2 separate regions of the Homo sapiens genome follow, and region 1 is linked to region 2. The links are contacts of gene promoters, found by promoter capture Hi-C in blood cells and fetal thymus (Javierre and others, 2016). All regions are on one chromosome and are shown on one strand. The core of a region is centred on a gene start or on the middle of the fragment in contact, and the rest is flanking DNA. Distances in the headings are between cores, read along the strand shown. Region 1 overlaps CLEC16A (C-type lectin domain containing 16A). Region 2 holds the start of PRM2 (protamine 2).

What was found. The method cuts DNA at HindIII sites, captures the fragments that hold promoters and counts their contacts. A CHiCAGO score of 5 or more calls a contact.
Region 1: a contact is called between a fragment that was not itself captured here and the fragment with the promoter of PRM2 in region 2, in 1 of 17 cell types (activated CD4 T cells). The highest score is 5.2, in activated CD4 T cells.

The regions. Positions count from the first base shown.
Region 1 is chr16:11,148,546-11,154,693 of GRCh38, forward strand. The region is part of intron 22 of CLEC16A (C-type lectin domain containing 16A); the gene reads left to right. Among named protein-coding and RNA genes, the nearest start is that of SOCS1, 100 kb to the right of the region's middle. The HindIII fragment of the contact is 5,148 bases long and covers 1,875-6,148 here.
Region 2 is chr16:11,275,125-11,281,889 of GRCh38, forward strand. It overlaps PRM2 (protamine 2), which reads right to left and starts at 1,356. Exons shown (of 2, transcript NM_002762.4): 1 at 976-1,356; 2 at 515-813. The coding sequence starts at 1,246. The coding sequence ends at 776. The region is part of intron 1 of LOC105371082 (a long non-coding RNA gene); the gene reads left to right. PRM1 (protamine 1) reads right to left here and starts at 6,206. Exons shown (of 2, transcript NM_002761.3): 1 at 6,003-6,206; 2 at 5,717-5,911. The coding sequence starts at 6,114. The coding sequence ends at 5,868. The HindIII fragment of the contact is 881 bases long and covers 773-1,653 here.

The DNA.
Region 1 (6,148 bases), core at 3,199-5,698, 120 kb before region 2:
GAAATGGAGGCTCAAGGCTACAATTTCCATTACACAGCCAGTCAGCATCAGGGCTGTGGCTTGAACCCATGTCTGTCTGCCACCAAAGCCCACCATCTTAGCTTATATTATGCGCCTCCGTTTCCCTGTCCATACTCCAGCCTTTAGACTCCCAGGCCAGTGCTCCATCCCCTGTATGGCCAGGAAAGCACAGCCATCTTGTAGGACCAGGAGCAGTTCAAATAATGAGCCAACGGCTGGCACCCTTTCTCCGAGCACAGCGATGCACCAGAATGCTCTCCCTCCTGTGACAGGTGATGTGCGCTTCAGCTCAGGCCCAGAAGAGCCACAAAAGAGAAGCTCCAGCAGTTCTGTGTAGGAGGCAGGATGTACTTCTATCCATAGAAGGGCTCTCATGATTATTTATTAATTGTGAAAGGGAAGAAAAAACTAATAGAGTTTCCCGGAAAGGGATACAAGTTCAATATGATAAACTCCCAAAAAGCAATCAAAGGCCAAAGAGGGCAGAAAAATAAAGGACAGGGAGAAAGAGAGATGGTGAATCAAAGTGGCCAGTATGTTAGCAGAGGCCAGGGGAGGGGCCAGGCTTCACAGCCAGGGAGGTGTGGGGCTGTCGGAGCACAAGTCACCAGTGGTGGTGAGTCAGGCAGGCAGCGGGACTTGACCCCATGGGGTCACTGAGGCCCTGGGGATGAGCTGATAACAGGAATGGATGGAACCGGTCAGCTGTTTTGCTATTACTGCAGACCCGTTGTATTAATTTTTGTGCATTAATACATGAACGTAGAATATTATAAATGAAAACTGAGAAGCTACAGGAAGAAGAAATCACAATCCTATCAACCCAGAAGAAAGCATTGTTAATATTTCTGTTTATTTTCCACTTCTGTCTTCCCTGTTTTGTCTCTTTCTCTCATTTAAAAAAAAAAATACATGAGTTGATTGTTGATTTTTGAAAAAATCAGGCTGGGCACAGTGGCTCATGCCTGTAATCTCAACACTTTGGGAGGCTGAGGCAGGCAGATTGCCTGAGCTCAAGAGTTCAAGACCAGCCTGAGCAACATGGCAAAACCCCATCTCCACTAAAAATATAAATAGCTGGGCATGATGGTGCCCACCGGTAATCCCAGCTACTTGGGAAGCTGAGACATGAGAATGGCTTGAACCTGGGAGGCAGAGGTTGCAGTGAGCCAAGATCACACCAGTTCACTCCAGCCTGGGTGACAAAGTGAGACTGTCTTAAAAAAAAAAAAAAAATTGCAACATTGCAGGTGCGACTTAAGACCCCATCAGTTACCACCCTTCCTCAGTCATCATTTGCCTTATTTTTATTTTTCCAGACCCTTCTCTGTGCAGTTGCATTTCATACATGTGCCAGAGCTGATGAACAGAACAGAGCCACCACCCCTTCTCTGCAATTCTGAAACCCAAACAGCTCTGAAAATCAAAATATTTTTCCTAACTCGTATGATGGCAAAACCAAAACCTGCCTTCAGGTATTTATGGGCGGGTTTATTAGAGTCATTGATGCCAGTAATTGTGAGTTTATGTTTTCGTTTCTGCAAAAATTCAGTGTTTGGTTTTAGCTGCTCACGACCCAGCTGACAGTGTAACGTAATACCTATGTGTGCCCTACATGGCCTTTTACCTCCTAAAGATTCTAAATTCCAAGACATATCTGGCCACAGAGGTTTAGGATAAGGAGTTAAGTATGGATCTGTAATTGTGTTAAGGTTTGGGCTTCCCTTAAATAAAATCATAATTCTGTATACCCTGCTGCACCTTGCTCTTTTCAGACACCACTGTAAATCAGGAATCTGTGTTAGCACTTACAGATTTCACACATTCCTTTTCACGGCTGCATAGTATTCCAAAGCTTGGCTACTTGCGTTTCTTTGGCTGAGTGATTCAGTCATCCTAGTCTTTTTCTATCCCGGGCAGCGTTGCAGTGGGCATCCTTGGGCACACCTCTCTCTGTGTGCACGTGCAGTACAAGAAGCAGAACTGCCAAGTCACAAGGTTTTGTTTTCACAACATTGCCATCATGTCAGAAGCACTTCCCTGTACTGTAAAATGCCTCTTCTAAACTTCATTCTTGATGACTGCATAATAGTCCATTGTCTGAGTGTTAGTTTCCTGAGGTGGCCATAACAAAGTCCCACAAACTGGGTGGCATAAACAGCAGAAATTGATTGTCTCACAGGTCTGGAGGGTAGAAGTGCAAAATCAAGGTATTGGCAGGGCTGGTTTCCTCTGAGGGGTGTGAGGAGGACTCTGGTCCAGGCCTCCCTCCTTGGCTTCTGGTGTTTTGCTGGCAATCTTTGCTACTTTTTGGCTCATAGAAGTATCACCCCAGTCTTGCCTTCATCTTCACGTGATGTTCTACCTGTGTGAAAATCTGCGTCCAAATTTTCATTTTTTAGGAGGCACAGACATATTGGATTAGGACCAAACCTAATGACCTCATTTTAACTAATTGCATCTGTAAAATGACCCCATTTCCAAACGAGGTCACATTCTGAGTCTGAGGTACTAGAGGTTAGGACTTCAACCTAAGAATTTGAAGGGGACACAGTGAAACACAAAACAGTCTGAATTTGCCAGATTTTACTTAATCCGCTTATACTGGCCACTTACGTTGTTTCTACTACCTTATGAAGCACCCTATGACAAACATCCTTATTCAGAAATCTTGGTCTACATTTCCAATTATTCCTCCAGAAACCATTCCTTAGAGTCAGGGGGACTGTCCATTTGTCAGGCTCTGGGTGGCACCTTGCCAAATTGCCTTCCAGAAAGCAGAGTAGGGGGATGCCCACCTGGTCACACCTGGGCCCTTGTCTTCATTCACCTGGGCTCTCAGATGACTCCTGCCCAGTGCTCCAGGCTGAAGTCCTCTGCACATATGTGTGCGCCTCTGCCAGCATGTGCACAGGCATTGTTTCTATCAAGTCACTTTTTTATTTCTCATTCCTGCCAAAAAGAGAGAGAGTCTATGGGTTAATAGCAAAGTAGAAACCGTAGCTCAAAATGTCTGTTTGGGGCATGTACTCTTGCATCTGTATAGATGAATAGAGATTTCAGAAATACTGGGCCCTCTGGGCCTCAGGCATTAAATCAATCAGTGCAATTTCACTCACAGGGCAGCTTGCCAAGGGAGCCCAGGAGAGAGTAGCGACTTCTCTGATTTAGTTCAGTCCGTTAAGCTCATGGCAGCCTGCACCAGCTCACTGTTGCAAAAGGCAATCAAGTAATGAGTACTCAGCCACTTTCGGGGGGCGGGGGCCGGCTGGGGAAGGGGCTCTCTGGAGCCTTTCAAATGGAGCCAACTTTTGATAGCTTTTTAGGGTAGTTCTGAGAGCTGGAGACGGGTGAGGAACCCGGGAAGTGAGAGCTTAATTAACGGAACTACAGAGAATGAGGCAGCAAAGGAATCTCTCAGAGAACCAGGGGGTTTTGTGTGTGTGATGAGCAAAAGGATAGAACTAGGTGCTTGAGTACTGCCGGCTAGGAACCAGCATTGAACAGCAGATGCCTAACTCAGCACAGCAAGGGCCAGCTTAGCACAGAGACCAGAGAGCAAGATGCGCGGAAGGATAAATTTAGCCTGCATTTCAGGGGAAAACATCGATCTCAAATGTAGTGCTGTCTTTTAAAAGAAAGTGGAAGCCTTAGGCCGGTCATCTGGGACAATTTCACTTGAACAGCTAAAAGCCCAGGAAAAACGAGTGCTCATAACCAGCTCATGCTGCTAGCACACCCACAAGATCTTCCCTCTGCAGGCGGGCGGCTGGTGTCTGCATGGGTCTGACAGATGGTCCTCCTGCTACCCTTATCTGTTCCCAGGAAAAGGTGCTGCCTTGTTTTCTGGAGAGATTTGGGGTTTCTATTTCTGATCCCAAATGTTCATCTTCATGAGGAATGACGGGGGGCCCAAGCTCTGTGTTTGCTCAGCTGCTGGTCCAGGACATTGACATCTGGTGGGTTGCACCTGTCAGAGCAGGGCCAGTGCCAATCCCCTCTGTTGTCTAGAAGCTGAGCAAAAGACATCAGTTACTGGTGTCTGTAGATAGGGTTGTTTTGTTTGTTTTTAACCAGGTCCCCTGTAGCATTCACACAGCATCCTGAGCATTGTTTCTACCTGGTCAAAGCTAAGGGCACCACTGTGGTCCCAAATAATAGAGCACCTGTCCTAATGACGTTCCCACAATCTCGCCAGTCAGGTGGTGACGGCATCTTTCCTCCAGCCTCCCTCTGACACTGCTCCCCTGTGTCAAAGGGGAAGAAAGTCCAGTCTGTCAATATTTGGGGCACTAATCATCTGCGTTCGGGCGCCAGGGGTCATTGAAAGGCTGAGACGCTTCCAGGAATTCATGGCTCTAAAACCGTGGGGCTGACTGGAAAGGATCTCCAGCGAGGGTATGAAGAAAGAAACCCAAATCTCCACTCCACCCCGACCCCGCAGCCTCTGAGCATTGTCCATTGTGTCTTGGGTTCTTGGGAAGAAATGAAGTCAATGCACATAGTGATGTGGGCCCAAGTTAATAATAAATGTAGAGGAAGGAGAAAGGATGTTCAATATTTAAACATTTCAGAGCGCTGTGTTTGTTTGCCAGTTACTGCCCTCCGCCTGCTTCCTGGATGGGTTCTGTAAAACGGAGCCTTCCTTCCCCAACTGTGCAATTGGCATCTGACACCAGCGATTTACATAGAAAGGGAAATGGTGCCTTTTCTAGGTAGTCCCCGTGCCAGCAGGACTCCTTCTCGTTTTCTGTTGCCTTTCTTGAAGGAAGAGGATGACAACATAGAAACTAAGGTTTTTATGACCCCTGGAGCACTTGTGAGGAGTTGACAGCTTTAGGGTCATGTCCAGAGTTGTCTTAATTTTCCCAGATTTGCTTCTTTGAAACTGTCTCATATTTTAACATAAATGTTGTGCTTTGGTTCTTACCTCTAACAGATTAAAAAGGCTAAACAATGAAACGTACAGTTGTGTTTAAGAAACGTCACTCTAAGTATACATACTAGATACGTTCCTTAAAAGTTGCCTGTAATGCAGAATTCTGTGAATCAATTCCTCCTTTCTTCTTGACGCACATTATAGAAAAGGAAAAGCATTCCTTCTGGGGGAGGGAAAAACATCTGACCCCAAGACATAATAAAATCATGCTTAAGAATACAGTAAACTTTAAAGTCTCTTAGTTAAAGGAAATCAATACTTTTATGATGAAATATTAATAATACTAAAAAAATAAGTCAAAACTACAAATGCATAATAGCTAGGGTGATTTTTAATGTTGGACACATTAGCTCAGCATTTGTGAGGAGGAACAAAGGGAAAAGAGAGCAACCTAGCCCATTTGAGAAGCCCTTCTGGTTCCTAATAAGTCCCCTTTTTGTGGGTCATCTGTCAAGAAGACACACACCTCCCCATAAGTGCCAACCTTATTTCTAAGCATTTTGTTGAAGCTACCGATTTTGGAAATGAAAGGATGAATGTAGCTGGAGAGAGGAACACACACAGGTGTGTACACACGCACACTCCTGCACACACATGCGCAGACAGGGCAAAGAGAAATGGAGAATTGGGGAAAGCCATTTATTTGTTTGAATACACTGCTGGCTGTTCCCTCCGTCCCCATCCTCCATGAATTATTCTGGTAGGGATCTTTAAGAGGGATGGACTTAGAGTAGATTGAACCATATGAAATGGCTGTTTCTGTAGGTCAAGTTAGTTGAATATTGGCAGTTGCATATGGTTCAAGCTCATCCATTCAACTCTCTATCAAAGAAATGCAAATAGAATAGTCATGTGTCTTGAATGCAGTGTAACATGAGGTTTTTAAGAATCTAGATGAAAATAACTTCATTTTTCTCGTAAACGATTTTCATATAAATCCTTTAAACCTAGATATTTAAAGTTCCTTTAGAAAGGCTCTCTCATGTCTCACTTTGTTAACTCCTAAAATCTTCAGTCATAACAGCTAATGTGAGGAAGACTTTTGTTTTGTGTTGCGTTCTTTTCTCCAAAGAGCTGGGCCATTTCTTTTGCTACATACCCCTTTGTCTAAAGACACTTACGAAAATGAAAGTCCCAGGACAGGCGTGGGGGCTCACATCTGTAATCCCAGCACTTTGGGAGGCTGAG
Region 2 (6,765 bases), core at 106-2,605:
CGTCTCTGTGCTGACCAAGTTGTTGCTGGAGCATGCCAGACCTGTTTCCCACCTCGAAGCTGTGGCCTGCACTGAGCAGTGCCCCCACCTCTGCCCCCACCGTTTACACTTCCAACCACCCAACACTCAAGATGGGTTGTGTTTTTAAACTGTGGCACACAGTAGGCATTTAAATATGGCCACAAGGTGCCTTGGCATCTTTGTGACTTAATTAGGACTCGATCTGTTCTAACCATTTTCTCCTTTCATGAGGTAGGATCAGGTTCTTCACTGGAGGGGGATCCAGACAGACTAATGTGGCCTTTGACACCATGGAAGGATGCACAATAGACAGGACAGCATCATAGGGTGGCCTCCCAGGCACAGTAACCCTCTCCTAGGTGTCCTGAGAGCATCAGAACTCCCGCCCTACCTGCCTCTGAGGAAGGGCTGCAGAGAAGCCTCTACCCGCCCTGGGCGTGAGGGAAGCCAGGTTTGTGTGATTCGTGCAAAGAAAACCCGACAGGCCAGCGAGTGTCTTGTCAAGCTTTATTGGGCAGGTGACTTTTGCTCGTTTCACTCAGATCTTGTGGGCTTCTCGGCGGCAACTCAGGGCTTGAGCATTTGATGTAGGGGAGTTGCTATGGCCTCACTCGGTGTTTCTTGGGCAGGTGACTTTCTCTTAACTTCCAGCTGGGGGCTTGAGCATTTGATGTAGGGGAATTGCTATGGCCTCACTTGGTGTTTCGGGCGACTTTTTCTTAATTTCCAGCTGGGGGTGAGGGGCCCAGGAAGCTTAGTGCCTTCTGCATGTTCTCTTCCTGGTTCTGCAGCCTTTTGGGAAAGAAAGTTCTGGTTGAGGGGGTCACCTAGGGACTCTGGGTGGGGACGGGGGTTAGGGGGCTGGAGCTTTTGTCAGGTGGGGTGGGTCCCCGCCTCCCTCCTGTGCCTGGGGTGGTCAGGGACATGCAGGGCAAGGCGGGGGCGCAGGCAGACCTCTGCGATGCCTCCTCCGGTGCCTGCAGGAGCGTCTTTTGCGCCTTCTGCAGGAGCGATGCTGCCGCCTGTGGATCCGGTGCAGCCTCCTTCGAGAGCAGTGTCTGCGCCTATAGTGAGACTGGCCATGGGTCCTCTCGTAGACCTCGACGTGCTCCGGGCTCAGCCCTTGCTCCTCTTGGCCGTGGTGTCCTTGCTCTTGCCCATGCAACTGCTGCCTGTACACCTCGTGCGAGCGTTCGCTCAGGCTCCTCACGCGGTATCGGACCATGGTGTTGGGAGATCTGGTGGCTCCTGGGCTGAGGCTGCAGTGGGCCCTGGAGTAGGGGAGGAGGGCGGAGGCCTGCCCACCTGCCCTTGGTGTTACTGTTGGTCTGGTCTGCAAGGCTCCCCGGGAGCTTGTATATAAAGGGGGCGCCCACTATGACTCTGCGGCCCCGCCCAGTCCCCACCCTGCCCAGCCTCCTCTGTGAGGGCAGCACAGGGCCAGGGGTCACAACTAGCAGGGCCCTGGCACCCAAGCTGCAGGGCTGGAAGGGCGAGAGACCCCCTTGCCTTGCCTGTAAAGCATGTCCTCTGTCTCTTGCAGTAGGTGAACCATACAGATGGCAGGTGTTTTATTGCCTAATCCAAGCCCTCATCTCCCCAAGCCGGTGGGTGCGCACATTGTCATTTGGAAGCTTCCTTGCCAACTCACTGCTGTGCCACAGCCACCATGTGGAAGGGACTTCCGTGCTTGGATCTCTGTGCACACAGCTTACTGTTAAGATGGCAACAGCAGCAAACAGTTCCCTAATAGCTCCTATGTGCCAAGCATTGATTCATTTATTTCCCATACATTCACTCATTCTCTCTCTCTCTCTCTCTCTCTCTCTCTCTCCTCTTTTTGTTTTGAGGCACTGTCTGTCGCCCAGGCTGGAGTGCAGTTGTGCAATCATGGATCATAGCAGCCTCTACCCCTCCAGCTCAGATGATCCTGCCACCTCAGCCTCCCGAGTAGCTGGGACTATAGGCGTGTGCTGCCACTCCCAGCTAATTTTTTGTATTTTTTGTGGAGATAGATAGGGTTTCACCATGTTGCCCTGGCTGGTCTCACACTCCTGGCCTCAGTGAGCCTCCCATGTCGGCCTCCCAGAGTGCTGGGATTACAGGTGTGAGCCACCACCCTTGCATTCCTCACTCTTACAATCCTCATTTTCTGTGGGGCAAACAGGCATGAAGAAGTTGAGTTGCTCAAGGCCACTCTGCTGAGAAGGCCAGGCCGGGCCAGCATTCAGACGGAGACAGCCTGGTTTTAGTCATACCCTTGGCTCTCCACCTCCTCCCTAGCCCAGGGAATGCTCCCCTCTCCGCCTCCAAAATATTCATCTTCTCCCCTCCCGCTCGGCCTTGCCGGGGCTTCTCATTGAACTTTGATGATCCCATTAAAGTCCGGGATCAGAATCACAGAAACTGCAAAACCAGTTTCCCTTTCATGGAGGGCAGGGAGAATGTGGGAATGTGGCAGATACACAAATTTAAGGACTTGAAGATGCAGAGATCATCCCAGATGATCTGGGTTGGCCCAGTGCAGTCACGAGGGTCCTTAGAAGAGAGAATAGGGAGGCAGGAGGGTCACAGGAAGAGAAACTGGGAGACACCACACTGCTGGCTTTGAAGATGGAGGGAGAGGCTATAAGCCAAGGGATGCAGGCGGCCTCTAGAAGCTGGGATGGACAAGGAAATGGGTTATCCTCCCCTCGTGCATCCAGGAGGAACACAGCCCTGCTGACCCCTTGATTTTAGCCCCATGAGACTTCTTTCAGAATTCTGACCTGCAGACCTGTAAGATAATGCATTTATGTTGTTTAAAGCTACAAAATTTGTGATGATCTGTCACAGTGGCAATAAGAAACAAATTCAGGAGGCTTAATCTTCAGATCCTTACAGGAGGTGATGGGTGATATTGCCATGCCCTTGGTGTTTCTATGCTGCCTCTCTTTAGGGATAAGAAGGTCCTTTATGATGGCCCTCAAGCTCTTCGAGGGCGCGTGTTAAAAATATGAATGCTGAGGCCTTACCCTACGTCCCGCTAAGTCAAATCTCCATGGCCAAAGCTTGCAGATGAAAATAAGAAGGGGCGGGGCAGGGCTCGGTGGCTCACACCTGTAATCGTAGCACTTTGGGAGGCTGAGGCGGGTGGATCACCTGAGGTCAGAAGTTCAAGACCAGCCTAGTCAACATGGTGAAACCCTGTCTCTACTAAATATACAAAAATTAGCCGGGAGTGGTGGCGGGCGCCTGTAATCCCAGCTACTCAGGAGGCTGAGGCAGGAGAATTGCTTGAACCCAGGAGGCAGAGGTTGCAGTGAGCTGAGATGGCACCATTGCGCTCCAGCCTCGGCAACAAGGGCGAAACTTCGTCTAAAAAAATAAAATAAAATAAAATAAACATAGGAAGGGGCTGGGTGTGGTGGCTCACACCTGTAATCCCAGCACTTTGAGAGGCCGAGGTGGGAAGATCACTTGAGCCCAGGAGTTTGAGACCACCCTGGGCAACATAGTGAGGGCTCTGTCTACAAAAAATAAAAAAAATAGCCTGGGTCCATGGTGGCATGTGCCTGTAGTTCCTGCTACTCAGGAGGCTGAGATGGGAGGATTGCTTGAGCACAGATCAAGGCTGCAGTGAGCCACGTTCACACCACTGCACTCCAGCCTGGGTGACAGAGCAAGACCCTTATCTCAAAAAAAAAAAAAAAAAAGGCACACCCAGGGGTCTGCCTGTCCAGCCAAGCTGCTATCATGATCCGAGTGTGTTATGGGGAGTCATTGCTAAAGTGATCAGGGTCATGGTAGTGCCAGGGCTAGCACTGAACTCTCATGTGCTCACTTGAAAGAACATGGTTGTTGATACCCACCGTAGGTGAGTGCAGTGGCTCATGCCTGTAATCACAGCACTCTGGGAGGCCAAGGCAGGAGAATCGCTTGAGCCCAGGAGTTTGAGACCAGCCTGGGCAACATAGTGAGACCTCGTCTCTACAAAAAAATTAGAAAAATTAGCCAGGCAAGGTGGTGCATGTCTGTGGTCCCAGCTACTCAGGAGTCCAGGAGGCTGAGGTAAGGAAATCACTTGAGCTCAGGAGATTGAGGCTGCAGTGAACTGTGTTTGCGCTACTGCACTCTATTCTAGCCTGGGTGACAGAAAGAGACCTTGTCTCAAAAAAAAAAAAAAAAGGAAGTGATGTATGCAGAATACCAGGCACACAGTTGGTGTCCCATAAACAGAAGTCATACTGTGACATTTCTGAGGTGCTTGGTGGGCCCTGTCACTTCAGGGAACTGGGTCTCAGAGCCTCTGGTCTCTGCCAAAATGCTCTGGGTTTGCTCTACCATCAGGAAATGACTGTGACCCAGGGCCTGTGTCAAGGAATCGGAGAGGTGGGCTTTCTTAGGCTGTGGGTGAGCCAAGGAGACCAGTGCCCAGCAGGACTTCTTATGTCCTTCCCCAGATCTCACTGGGGTCTTAAACTCTTGCCTTAGAAATTTTAGTATAGGTGGTATATCAAGCAGCTTGAGTGTGGACTTAGATCCGACCAGATGGACAAGTTAACCTTTGTTTCTTCGGTGGACATAACGTTGTGAAACCGTGCCCCAAAGAGTAAAGAAACCGGTGGTTAACAAAAATGTTTGAGTTTACAGGATGGCAGATAAGAGACTTCCTTAATGGTGCTTGATTAAATGTGAAAAGTTCAGCTCCACTGCTACCTGGACAAGTTATCTCTGTACCCAAATGGGGATGAAAACTTCTGGCACAGAGTGAGGAATAAGCAGTTTTGAATTTAATTTTCCTGATGGTGACTGGCTTAATCTATTTAAGTTATAACCTAAGAGTTCCTTTGTTGAAGAGTGGAAATTTCAGCTTTGGGCTGAAATAAACCCGGGTGGGCAGCTAGGGGACAGGTCAGATGGGATGAGCTGGTTCAATCTTGAGCTCCAGCTGGTAAATGTTTAACTGGCTTTGGGGTTCCTGGGATGGAGGGAACCCAGATTTGTAGCATTTGCTGATTTCTGTAAATACTCCATGGTCCATTTCAAGCTGCCAAGATGAGGTCACCAAGCAGAGTGGGGAAATGTACACAGTGGGTCCTCAAACTCGAGAGACCTGGATAGAGCACCCCACTGGGTAGGGATCTGTTAAGAGGGTTTAGGAGGCAGGTTCTGGTTGTGACTTGGGGAGACTGGTTCTTGTTGTATCTTAGGGAGGCAGGTTTGGGTTGTGACTTGTTGGTACTACTAAGAGTTTGGAACAATGGCCAGGTGCAGTGGCTCATGCCTGTAATCCCAGCACTTTGGGAGGCCGAGGCAGGTGAATCATGAGGTCAGGAGATCGAGACCATCCTGGCTAACACAGTGAAACCCCGTCTCTACTAAAAATACAAAAAATTAGCCAGGTGTGGTGGCGGGCACCTGTAGTCCCAGCTACTCGGGAGGCTGAGGCAGGAGAATGGAGTGAACCTGGGAGGCGGAGCTTGCAGTGAGCCAAGATCGCGCCACTGCACTCCATCCTGGGCGACGGAGCGAGACTCTGTCTCAAAAAAAAAAAAAAGTTTGGAACAAAACCCAGCGTGACAACTGTCTTTCATGTCCCCCCCACCGACATCTTTCTCCCGTTGCATGCCCAGGCCCTCTCCCCCTCTGCTCATCCCCGAGCCCTCCTCCCCACTGAGCCTCCCCTCTCAAGAACAAGGAGAGAAGAGTGGGATGACTTTTCAACATTTATTGACAGGCGGCATTGTTCCTTAGCAGGCTCCTGATTTTTATTGGATGGTGGCATTTTCAAGATGTGGCAAGAGGATCTTGAAGTCTGGTAACATTCTCAGGCAGGAGTTTGGTGGATGTGCTATTTTGTGCAATTAGTGTCTTCTACATCGCGGTCTGTACCTGGGGCGGCAGCACCCTGGTGAGACCAAGAAAAGTGGTGAGAGGAAGGCTGGGCCCTGAGAGCTCCCAGCCTCAGCCCCAGCCCACCCTCAGCTGGGCCCACTTACTCATGGCTCTCCTCCGTGTCTGGCAGCTCCGCCTCCTTCGTCTGCGACTTCTTTGTCTCTGGCGGTAATATCTGCTCCGGCTCTGGCTGCGACAGCATCTGTACCTGGCCATGGTGCAGGATGGGCTTGGCCTGAATGCTCAGAGCAGGGCACCACCTTGGCTGAGCCAGCCAACCTGTGAGCAGGTGGAACTCTGTGGGCTGTGAGTCAGGGGCCAGCTCTGCGGCCTGTTATAGATGCCAGGGGGCCGTTGGTCATTGTGAGGGCAAAGGGGCTGGGACCTCACAAACCATGGCCAGGTGGCCTGCATCATGTCCATATATGGGCATTTGAGAGGCGGGCAGGCCCCCGAGTGTAGGGGCTGCCTATGTCACAGCTGGGGCGATACAAGATGACTCCTCCGTGGGAGCAATCATCTAGTTATTCAATTAACAAAATATTACTGTTAATATTTTGGCCTGTTCCATGCCGGATTTTGGCCTAGGCCCTGGTATATAGTGATAAACAAGACAGACATGCCCTTGTTAAGAAGTATTATTATTATTATTTTATTTTTTTAATTACTTATGTATTTTGTTTATTTTTTTGAGACAGAGTCTCATTCTGTCACCCAGGCTGGAGTGCAGTAGCACAATCTTGGCTCACTGCAACCTCTGCCTCCTGGGTTCAAGCAAACCTCTGGCCGCAGCCTCCCGAGTAGTTGGGACTACAGACATGCACCACCACACTCAACTAATTTTTGTATTTTTAGTAGAGATGGGGT